Linked DNA regions of Homo sapiens: all the other regions are linked to region 1. The links are contacts of gene promoters, found by promoter capture Hi-C in human tissues and cell types (Jung and others, 2019). All regions are on one chromosome and are shown on one strand. The core of a region is centred on a gene start or on the middle of the fragment in contact, and the rest is flanking DNA. Distances in the headings are between cores, read along the strand shown. Region 1 holds the start of ZHX1 (zinc fingers and homeoboxes 1). Region 2 overlaps ZHX2-AS1 (ZHX2 antisense RNA 2). Region 3 overlaps ANXA13 (annexin A13).

Region 1 (3,801 bases), core at 817-3,316:
CAACAAAAGAAAACTTGTCATTAACTGTGTAGACAAAAGAATGAATTTCTCTATTTGAAGCATTTCCAGACCTCTTCCTCGGTCTAAAGAGGTTCCCAGCGAGGGCAGTACTGCCCCTCAGGGGCATACTGAAATTTTGCCGGGACAGTTTTTGTTTTGCATTCTATTGGTGGCAGAGTATTTACATTGTGAAAACTCTGTTATTTTAAAATTTTTCTTGATATTAGTACATACAGTATTTTATTATGAACTACTTTCTCCTTTTTCACCTTTATTAGAACATTACATTGGTTTCTTGAAATTATTTGTAGAGATAGTTTGCATTAGGAATTTAACTCCAGAAGAGTAAAGCAGTGTTATATTTTTTGTTGTAAATACAGGGCATTGAATGTGGCAGGGTTGAATACCTTTGCTTATAAAATTAAGCCTTATCCTACACAAGTTTTAGGATTCCAGGATGAAACCTACAAATAAAAAGAATATTGTAGAACACTGATTTCAACGATCAGATTCCACGGCCAGGCGCGGTGGCTCACTCCTGTAATCCCAATACTTTGGGAGGCCGAGGCTGGCGGATCACTTGAGTTCAGGGGTTCAAGACCAGCCTGGCCAACATGGCGAAACCCTGTCTCTACCAAAAATACAAAAATTACCCCGGCGTTAGGTGACGGGCCCCTGTAATCCCAACTACTCGGGAGGCTGAGGCAGGAGAATCGCTTGAACCCGGGAGGCAGAGGTTGCAGTGAGCAGAGATCGCGCCATTTCACTTCAGCCTAAGCGACAACGCGAGACTCCGTCTCAAAAAAAAAAAAAAAATCAGACTTCCACTTGAAGCAATTGCATCTTTTAGGATTAATGTGGCTCAGCGGAGCTCTGCTGTGCTTTTAGGATTACTGTGGCTCAGCGGAGCTCTGCACAAAGGGTCCGCGACTGGGATGGGGGTGGGGAGTGAACGTCAAGGGGCCCAGGAGCGCTCGAGCGTCCAAGGCCCGGCGTGTGGAGCAGCTGGAGGGTGAGTCGCCGCTCTCCGCTTTGGTTCTGTTCCTCCACGTTCTGACCGCGGTGCGGGGGAAAGGGAAAGTGAGTAGGGAGGGGCGGAGACGCCGGGCAGTGTTCCCGAAACCCCTGGCCCTCGCTGGCCCCGCTGCGGGGCTGGTTCCCTGAAAGCCGACGGGATGTGAAGCCCTCGACTCGGACAGAAGCCTCTGGAAGAGCGAGTGGCGGTTCGCAGGGAGGAGGGCGGCTGAGGGGCAGAGGGCGGCTCCGCCTTGCCCGGCGGTTCTGAGTGCAGCTGAACTGAACTTTCGGTGTCAGCGGGTGGAGCTGCGGCCCGCGGAGGAGCGGGGTCCGAAGCGAGGAGAGGTGGAGCTGCCGCTGACAAGGGGCGCGGCGACTTCTGTCAGGGCGCTGGGCTCCCGGCCGGACTCGCAGCAGCCCCCCGAGGGGCGGGGCCTGGGTCGTGTCGCCCCAGGGGATGGGCGTGTGATGACAAGGGGCGTTTCAGTAGAAGCCAGCATGCTTACCTCTCACGATCCAGCAGTGACATTAGGAAGGCGGAGCGCAAGGAAGGCGGGGCTGCCTTCTGTGCTGACCCGAGAGAAGACCAGGCTTCAGTCCACAGCGGGCGGAGCGGTCGCAGGCAAAGGGCGGGGCCATTTCGAGCCCTGGGAAGGCGGGGCGTCTCCTGACAGGGGGCGGAGCTTCCGCAGTCTGGGGCGGGGCTTCTGTTGACAGGGGGGCGGGGCGCCTCCCTACCTCCCGCGGTGCGCCAATCCCCGGACTAGGGGCCGGGGTCGGACCCCAGTGGAGTAGCAGGGTCTGGGCGTGGAGAGCTCGGCGCCGCACGGGGTGGGGGCGCGCGGAGGACGCGCGCGCGGGAGGGCCCCGCCTTGGCCGGCTCTCTCCCTTCCCCCTCCGCCCCCGGACGGCCGCTGGGGCGCGCGCCTCTCCTCGCACCCCCACCCTGAGTCCCCACACTCCGCGGGGCCACCGAGCTGCTGAGGCCCCTTTGCGGGCCCGCCGAGCGGTTCCGGGTTTAGGGTTCACAGGTCAGAGTTGACTCCCTGAAAAGTGCAGCCGGTTTGAAATGCAAGATGGCGGCGGCGTGGCGCTGAGAGGCGCGGCGGCCCCTGCAGGTAGTGGCGCGAGCCGGCTCCGCGACCAGCGGGCCCGGAGACTCTGGGCTGCGGGTGGGAACTGGAGCGCAGAGTCCGCGGCCGGCACGGGAAAGGCGAGTAGCGCGGGGCCTGGCGGGAGGAGGGCAGCCTCACAGCAGAGACCCCTGGGGCTGAGCCCGCTCGCGGCGGCGGGTGGCGGGGTGGACCCGGCGTGGGGCGTCCGAGGGGGAGGGACGGGGCCTGCCTCGCGGCTGGGTAGTCGCCGCAGAGGGACAGACAGACCCACAGCCTCCCTCGCTCTTTTTGGGTGTCTCCGCCACCGAAAGAGCTTGGGGGCGGGGGGCTCTCTGGAGGGAACATCTCAGCCCCCTGCCTTGGTGAGGACCCAGCAACTTAGGATTGTTGAGAGGAGTGAAGACTGCGTATTCCCAGCGGAGGGCGCCGCCGGAGGGAGCACCCCAGTAATGTTGGGAGTCCTAGAGGAGGTCAGGAGCGCTGTCCTCCGGGGGCGTGTGGCTGCCTCGTGGGGGACCCAGTCTCCCTGAGAGTAAGGAGAGATTCTCTTGCTGGAGCTGAGCGCACTGACTGAGGTTGGAGCCCCAGCAAACCCTTCAGGAGAAGTCTTTACCTCCAGTTCAAGGAAGGCTATGCGCACCCGTTTCGGGGCCAGGCCATGTCCCAACTTTGGGAAAGACTGGGAGTTGAGTCCTTAAGAACCATATTACGATTGTGACGAAGCCCTGGGATTTAGGGAGAAGTTAATTAAAGAGGATGGTAGGGGCGTGGGGGTGTGGGGGCTGACCCATGGGAATCCTCCAAGCCTTAGGGCCCACAGTGAACAATCTACTAATACCTCAAGGGGTATAAAAGGCTGGGAAGGAGAGGTGTGAGAGGAACAAGGTCTAAGGGCAGGAAAGAAGAGCCCTGGCAGATCCCCTTTCCTTATATATTTACACCAAAGTTGGAGGTAAAGGGACTTGGCAATTCTTTGTTTTAGTACCTTTCCTGTCCTCTCTCCTCCGTGGGTAACTGTAAGGAAAGAGCATAGCCCCTGAGAAGGAAAAGATTCCATTTGATATCCTTAGCTTAGGTTAGTGAAGGATCCAGCAGCTGGGAAGGCGTCAATGAGAGACAGCAGGCGGGGGAATTAGAACAGAGACTAGGGATGAGAAAAGAGGAATACAGGGAAGATATCGGACAGAGCAGGAATTCCACAGCCCTTTTCTGTCAACTCAGCCCAGCTATTAGAAAAAAAAAAAAATGCGAAGAGCTAATATTTGAGAGAAAAATGTAAAGGCTGAGAGAGAAGTCGTGATGTGATTAGGTTGGGATTCCATGTAACTTAAGCAGTTCTCTTGGAGGTTAATGTGATAGCAGAAAAAGGAAAATCACAAAATTGGAAAATATACAGCGGTTCACGGTTAGGGAGGAAGAAGCAGTCTCCCCCCAGGAACAGTGAATATTTGGTTTGGGGTGTGTGTGTGTGTTGTGTGTATACATATATAAGAGCACTTTAGATTTGCTGGTGTTGGTCATTGTTTCTCAGTCTTTGTCTGAAAGCTTTAATTTGTGTTATATGGTGCTACATTAATTATCTTCGTTTCTGAAAAATTATTCTGAAAAAGTCATTTGTTTTTATGTCGGGAGCGAAGGTGAGCAGGAGTTGGTTTTAACAGGGAAATTG
Region 2 (3,801 bases), core at 815-3,314, 500 kb after region 1:
TCTTTCTCAGCCTCATTTGGTACCGGCTAAGAACCTAATTTACTTGCCATCAACATCAGAATTTACCGCTGCCTGATCTCCTCCCAACCTCTGCCTCACCCAGGGTGAACCAAAATTGTAAAAAGAAAAGAAAAAAATATGGGACCCTCCCCCCATTCCCCCGCCTTGTCCCGTCCCGCCGGCCACACCAACTTCAACATTTTTACATCGCTTACCTTATTATGCCCCTTGCAGGCTATTCCACGCCCTGCCCCCCCCCCCTTTAAAATAAGTCTAGTTCTGTCTGTTTCCATGGAAATTACCCAAACCTTAACGAAGCTATTCCTATTTTGAGGCTGCACCTCCTCTGGATGATCAATCACTTAGGAGGGTTTTCTATAAGCCAAGTTTCCCTTGCTGCCACCTCACTGCCACCTGCTTCTGGCTGGGTGACAGATTGTATGTAGGGTGGAATGGGCCAGGTGGGAGGGAAGCCAGGTAACCCTCTAAACAGTCTGCTGGGTTCTCATATCTTCAGAGCACTTGGATCTCATGGACACTAGCAAGGATGAGGGGCTTCTGATGTGTTGCAGTGTTTTAAAATTGTTCAGAGTTTAGCATGGACTGAACTTGCACCATATAAAGAGAAAACAATGAGGAATAAGACAAAGGTGGCTTTTGCTTTATGTGGTATGATCCCTGTTTGCTTGAAGTATACTCATGGAGTAGACAGACCGTTATCTGACAGTATTTAGGAGCTTCAGAATCAATAATGTTGGACAAGTAAATGTTCAGCCAGGAAGTAACGTATGCCACTTTCACTTACAACTCATTGGTCAGAACTAAACACAAAGTTAACTGTAAAGATCCATGGAAGTATTGTGTGCCTGGAAATGGAGAGAATGGGAAAGATTTGCACTAATATGATAGCACTAAGGACTATCATAAATAATAATAGCAGTTCACAATTATTGATCATTTACCATGTGCTGAGCCTTTTATATGTATCATCTCATTGAATCATCACAAAAATCTATATTTTGTCTTTATTTTACCGATATAGAAACTGAGACTTAAAGAGCTTAAGTACTGTACCTTGCTCGACATCACACAGATGCTAAGTAATGGAGTTGGAATTTAAGCTTAATTTTACCTGCTTCCCAGAGAATAGACTTTTAAAACACTGTCCTCAACCACCTTTGGACTTAATTGGTCCCCTGTTGTTGGGCATTGGGTAGTTTCAATTTTATTCCAATGAACAACCTTGTGTCAGATCTTTTGAATCATCTGCGATTACTTCCTTAGGATAAATTCCTAGGTACATATTTGCTTAGTTGAAATATACACACATTTCAAGAATAAAAACCTTTTGCAAAAAGTGAAAGCTTTAGGAGGTGTGGTAGTCTTCTAAGATGGCTTTTTTCAATCCTTTCCTTCCTTTTTTGAAAAATACATCACCATTAAGAGGTGGAGTTTACTTCCCCTCCCTTGGAATCTGGACTGGTCCTGTGATTGCTTTGGATGCAATGAAAGTGATATTCTGAGACATCTAAATCCAAGTCTTAAGAGACTGGCAGTTTCTGTTTCCTTCCTTTTAGGGTCCTGCTGCCATGCTGTGAGAAGCCGAAGTTTCATGGAGAGGCCACATGGAGTGAAAACAAAGGTGATAGGGACAATAGCTCCACCTGAGATCCTGATTAATACACAGACTTTAGCCATCTTGGATGCTCCAGCCTAATCGATCTCCCACTTGACTCTAGTCTCACCTGACATTATGTAGAGGAAAACCATCCAGCTCCACCTAGTCAACCCACAGAATAATGAGATGATCATAAGACTGTAGTTGTTTAACATTATTAACTTTTGGGGTGGTTTATTACACAGTGATAGATAAATAAAATGGGAGTTATTATCCGTGTCTTTATTTGCACATATATCTGAATATTTCAGATCTACTTCCCCCTGAACTCTGCAGGGTATAGGTAGCATTGTGAAATATTGGAGGCCAGGACAAGGGGTAGAGAGGCCTCTTGGTCCATGATGCCTGAGCTGGCCCACTCTCCAAATCAAAGCTTTTCTTGATTTTAGTTGTTGCTCATGAAGGATCCCGCGCCACAGGTCCCAGATCCTAAGCAAATAAGAACTCATTTATCAAGCATAGATACTCAGTAGGTACTGGAGTTAAGTTCCTGTTTGGTGTTGCCAAAAACAGAGGTTTCCATTATTTAAGGATATACACTGTGATAGGGAGTGCAAGTGCCCACCATGTACATGGCTGCCTGGGAGGTGCTTCTTATACTTTATGTAATTTAATCTTTTAAACAACCTTCTGAATAGTATATTGTCTCCTTAATTTGTGGGAGAAAACAAGTTTATAGAAGCTTATGAATTATCCATGGGCCATACAGCTGATAAGTTAGAAGCAGGTCTTGAGCCCACATTTGATTGATTACAAATCCTGCCTGCTTCCCACTATACTTGTGACTTGCAAATTAACTCATGTGCAAACCCCCTTCACCAATTTTGTCCCAGTAGCAAAGGAACTACCTATAGTATTTTTAATTTAACATTTTATTTGGCCAGGGTCATGGCTCACACCTGCAATCCCAGCACTTTGGGAGGCTGAGGCAGGTGGATCATTTGAGGTCAGGAGTTTGAGACCAGCCTGGCCAACATGGTGAAACCCCATCTCTACTAAAAACAAAAAAAAATTAGCCAGGTGTGGTGGTGAGTGCCTGTAATCCCAGCTACTCAGGAGGCTGAGGCAGGAGAATCGCTTGAACCGGGGAGGCAGAGGTTACAGTGAGCCAAGATTGTACCACTTCCAGCCTGGTGACAAAGCTAGACTCTGTCTCAAAAAAAAAAAAAAAAAAAAAAAAAAAGAAAACATTTTATTTACATTGATTCACATTTTTAAAACTTAAATGCACTTATTTCATACTAATACTAAAGAAGCCTTTTGTCACAATAGAAACAAGAAAATCCAATATTGAATTTTCAAATGAACCAATGAAAGGTAACAGTGAAAATAACCATGGGAAAAAAAAAACAGCACTATTGAGCTAGCTAGATACTCTTATTTGCAGAAGGTAGAGATGGAGGGGAAAGGTGTTAGAAGGTTATTAGAGACAGGGTAGCACCAAACTGAGAATTTTTTCTTGAGCTAATTAAAAGGATGGGAAGAGAATTGAAAGTTGTAACTTTCTCTGAGTCAGAGCTATTTTGTGCTGTACCTGGACATCATTTAAAACCATCTCATGGCCACACATGCTACTTAAGCGGTACATGTTTCACACTGCTGACACCTGGCTGCCTGTCACAGTTCTTCATGTATGAATCTATTACAATGTTGCTCCCTCTGAGAGCATAAGAATCAGTGCCACGGGTTGAAGGGCTGAATGTTTGTGCTCCCTTGCCCCCCAATTCATATGTTGAAATCCTAATCCTCAATGTGATCATATTAGGAAGTGGGCGGGGCCTTTGGGAGGTGATTAGATCATGAAGGTGGGGCCTTCCTGATAGTGATACTGGAGTGCTGGGTAGAGAAATGTGGGTCCCTGGCCAGGGCTCCACCCCTACAGACCTAGGTGAGGACAGGCTTTTGTGAGGACTAGGCTAGGTGAGGACTCCTGCTTTTGTGTCTAAACGTTGCATTTTCCAAGACCACCCTGGCCCGCCACACCCTCATCCTGGTCCTATAAAAACCCCAGACTCCAGCAGGTAGACACAGGCAGCCAGATGAGAGGGGCAGTTGGAGAAGATTTGGGCCGCTAAGCAGCCTGACTCCAGGGGAAAACCATCTCCCTTCTGGCTCCCCCATCT
Region 3 (3,801 bases), core at 965-3,464, 450 kb before region 1:
TTTTCAGCAAATCAGAACTTGTCCACATACTGTTGACTGCATCCTGCTACACAGCACATTTGATGCCATGAAGGCCCCGCTCAGCCCCCAATATTCTCACTTTTCAATTCCATCTGCCCACTTATCATTGACTCTTGAGGATTCCAGAGTACACTTGCTACCTTTTTTCCTGCAAGTAATGAATCCCATGTTCATACTCTCATTGAATTGGCAAAAGACGACCTTTGGCAATATAAGAAGGAAATGGATCATTCTTTTCTAATGAGAAACGTGCTTCATTTTTCATAACTCCTGAAAGCATGGTTCCTTTCACGGTTGAGAAATATCCATCATCTCCACACAACCACTTTATCCTCCAAGTTCTCTTTTGTTGATGCAATACAGTGGTAATTGGATATCTGGAAGTTTAGCACTCTTCAGAGGTCTCCAACTCCCCAAACAATCTGTGGACAACCTCAAAGCAGACAGTCATTTTCCCCAGGACACAAAATCTTGTTTCCACATAATGAATGTTATTCTGCCTCTACTAGAAACTCCAAGTTCTCCAGCCCAACACAGCACTCAAGGGCCCCTAAGAATGAGTCAACAGAGAGATGTCACTTGGGCACGTTGCCCTGCCGGTATAGGCTGGGATGTTCACAACAATCTTGATGCAGACAAAGAAGCAGGAGGTGACAACAGGTTTCTCACTTTGAACTGATCTCAGCTCACACCTTCCTCCTAGTTACCTTATCTCAGCACTCATCTTTCAGATTTGTCATCTGGGTTTCTTTGCAAAAAAATTAAAGAATGTAAGACATCATGGTCCATTTCTATTCTTCCCTTTTAAGTTACCACAGCAATTTGCCCTTGGTGACTGGAGGCCTTGCTTTAGTCAGCACCTGTGTGCCGTTTACCACCAGAGGCTTGGCCTTCTCCACACTTTTTAAAGAGACCCGTTGACAGAATCGTTACAACCATTCAGCCAGGGTTGTGGACCCTTGGCACATTCGTCCTTGGCACTGCTGACATTTGGGACCAGGTAATTATTTGTGTGTGTGTGGGCGGGGGGAGGGGGGCTGTCTGTTCTGTGCATTACTGAAGGATGTTTAGCAGAATCCTGGCCTCTATCACTAGATATTCCAGTAATACTCCCCTACTCGTGCCAACTGAAAATGTCTCCAGACATTGCCAATTGTCTCCTGGGAGACAAAAATCGCTCCTGGTTTATTGAGAACCACCGCTTAAATGGGAAAACAAGGCTCCAGGGCAGATGTCCTCAGAATGTCTTTATGTCACTGGATCTCCACCAGAAATCACCATTCCTGCCCTTCTGGCCCAGGCATGTCCCTACACTGATTTCTTCTCTTATAACAGAGAAAAGTCAGCTTCTCCTGAAGATTGACCCTTATCCTCCTGTTGATGACAGCAGCAGCCAAGAGGCAGCAGTTTTTCTCAAAACTGTTAGCCCATGAGTAACAACTTCTTCTTTTTTAAAAATTCTTTATTTCTGTAGGTTTTGGGGGAACAGGTGGTATTTGGTTACATGAGTAAGTTCTTCAGTGGTCATTTGTGAGATTTTGGTGCACCCATCACCCGAGCAGTATACACTGAACCCTATTTGTAGTTTTTTATTCCTTACCCTCTCCCACCCTTTCCCCCAAGTCCCAAAAATCCATTGTATCATTCTTATGCCTTTCCGTCCTCATAGCTTAGCTCCCACTTATGAGTGAGAACATATGATGTTTGGTTTTCTGTTCCTGAGTTACTTCACTTAGAATAGTATTCTCCGATCCCATCCAGGTTGCTGCAAATGCCATTAATTCATTCCTTTTTATGGATGAGTAGTAGTCTATTGTATATATATACCACAGCTTCTTTATCCACTCATTGATTGATGGGCATTTGGGTTGGTTCCACACTTTTACAATCGCAAATTGTGCTGCTATTAATATGCATGTGCAAGTATCTTTTTCATATAATGACTCCTTTTCCTCTAGGTAGATACCCAGTAGTGAGATTGCTGGATCAAATAGTAGTTCTTATACCAGAGTGAGAAGGGTTTCACTGCAGAAACCCTCAGTAAAAAGGCTGCTGGGCTGCTGGATTTCCTGCCTAGATGAGCAGTGCTCCCCTGGAAAGACACAGGCTGGAACCTTCAGGAGCTGATTGGCTCACCTCTCCTCTGTTTGGGTGTAGCCCCCAAAAGGGCTACCCCACTTGGACTCCCTATACCACAGCTCAGTGCATGGCAGGATGCCCACATTGTTTACACTCCTGAGGATACCATCAGTACCTTCAGGTACAATGGTGCCCACCAGTTTAAGGCACAGCATATTGAAGGGCCTTCAAGTCAGGTCTCCTAACTCCTACCCAGCCCTGCAGTCACCTTTGATAAGTAAATATCACATCAACACGTGTAACCCAGATGGCATAGCCTAAGGAAGCTTGTCTTTCTGGAAAATGACCTAACTATACCAATCTTCATTAAAAGGTGCTGAAATGCCAACATGGAAGCAATCCCAAATGTAATAGAAAGGTCATGTTTTAATCTAAAGAACTGAACTCATTTTTCAGAACATACAGTCAACATATGCAAGCAAATCATGTTGAGCTGTGATCCAAATGGATGTTTTTCTAGTTTTAGTTTTAGTTGTTAAATGATACAAATATTTCTGCCCCTTTAGAGTGATAGCCAAACACTTAGTCATCATGTAAGTCACTGTAATACTGCATCTTGGAAAGGAGGTATCAACAGCAATGAACAACTCTGTAACATTCCAGCACCCTACTAAGGTGGGCAGAGCTCAAGTTTCCTAACACACTTTCCCAACAGCTCTCTGATCAACCCCCGCAGATTAATAAACTTCTAATGTGGGAAGAGGTTCTAGGCATGAAGGAATTGGCTTGCTTTTAGTCGGTGTGAGATCCTGGAGAATCCTAATGAAAACAGCAATAACTACATGATGAAATACCAAATATTCGTATTCAAACTGTGCTTAAATATACCCAACAGGGTATACTGCCAAATATATTTTTTTCTGTTGGGTAGTTTTATGACTTAATGAAACCAATATGTCACTAATCACCCAAGATTCATGCTTCAGATGTGAATGGCCCCTCTATTTTGTTTCAAATTGCTCATCAATCTCTACTAACCATGTCTGTGGAAATGTCACCAGGATATTTTCTGGCTCTGAATTCATGAATGTTAAAAGTACAATAATTTGCATTCATACTAACTGGCTTCAAAGTGCAAATGAGTAACCGGTTAGAGGTAAAAGAACATTGTTCTGAGAGAGATAGGAGATGGATGTTTCCATAAGGTGACCCTGAGCAGGTGACTTAACAACCAGGCTTCAGTTTCTTTATTTGTAAATGATGGGATTGGATACATTCAATGTCTCCCAAACTTCAGATTTAAGTACAACCTTCATGATTGTTGCCAAATATATGGGTTACCTCTTCTACTAATTATTCTATTAATTATTTTTAAATACGCACTTTTTAATATAAATTAATCTTAAAAGGAAATTTTATACTGATACCATAAATGGAAAATTAATGTCAGTTGACATAAATATAGATAACTAAATGAAAGCAAAAAGAATGTATTAAATTCTAACTAAATTTGATGTTGCCAGCTGAAGGGTAAGGTCCTATCCTCTGACTAAAAAAGGACCTGTTTACATGGTCCACATGGGATACAGTGGGAGTCCACAAAGTAAATAATGAGGCTTTGTGGGCCACAGAACCTCTGGTGCAAGTAGGTAACTACTCTGCCATTGTAGCGTGAAAGAAGCCATAGGCCAAATGTAAATG

What was found. Contacts are between HindIII fragments. The study calls those that stand out against the background at their distance.
Region 2: a fragment that was not itself captured here is called in contact with the fragment with the promoter of ZHX1 in region 1 in 1 of the 25 tissues and cell types used here (spleen).
Region 3: a fragment that was not itself captured here is called in contact with the fragment with the promoter of ZHX1 in region 1 in 3 of the 25 tissues and cell types used here (hippocampus, lymphoblastoid cells and mesenchymal stem cells).

What each region holds. Positions count from the first base shown.
Region 1 is chr8:123,272,551-123,276,351 of GRCh38, reverse strand. ZHX1 (zinc fingers and homeoboxes 1) reads left to right here and starts at 2,066. Exons shown (of 4, transcript NM_007222.5): 1 at 2,066-2,135. It overlaps ZHX1-C8orf76 (ZHX1-C8orf76 readthrough), which reads left to right and starts at 2,066. Exons shown (of 6, transcript NM_001204180.2): 1 at 2,066-2,135. RefSeq lists an enhancer at 716-835 and silencers at 1,316-2,005, 2,206-2,405, 2,442-2,809. The HindIII fragment of the contact is 11,288 bases long and covers 1-3,801 here.
Region 2 is chr8:122,775,974-122,779,774 of GRCh38, reverse strand. ZHX2-AS1 (ZHX2 antisense RNA 2) reads left to right here. Exons shown (of 2, transcript XR_007061082.1): 2 at 1,578-1,891. Among named protein-coding and RNA genes, the nearest start is that of ZHX2-AS1, 3.7 kb to the left of the region's middle. The HindIII fragment of the contact is 3,632 bases long and covers 249-3,801 here.
Region 3 is chr8:123,724,889-123,728,689 of GRCh38, reverse strand. The region is part of intron 1 of ANXA13 (annexin A13); the gene reads left to right. The region is part of intron 1 of LOC105375739 (a long non-coding RNA gene); the gene reads right to left. Among named protein-coding and RNA genes, the nearest start is that of ANXA13, 11 kb to the left of the region's middle. The HindIII fragment of the contact is 8,461 bases long and covers 1-3,801 here.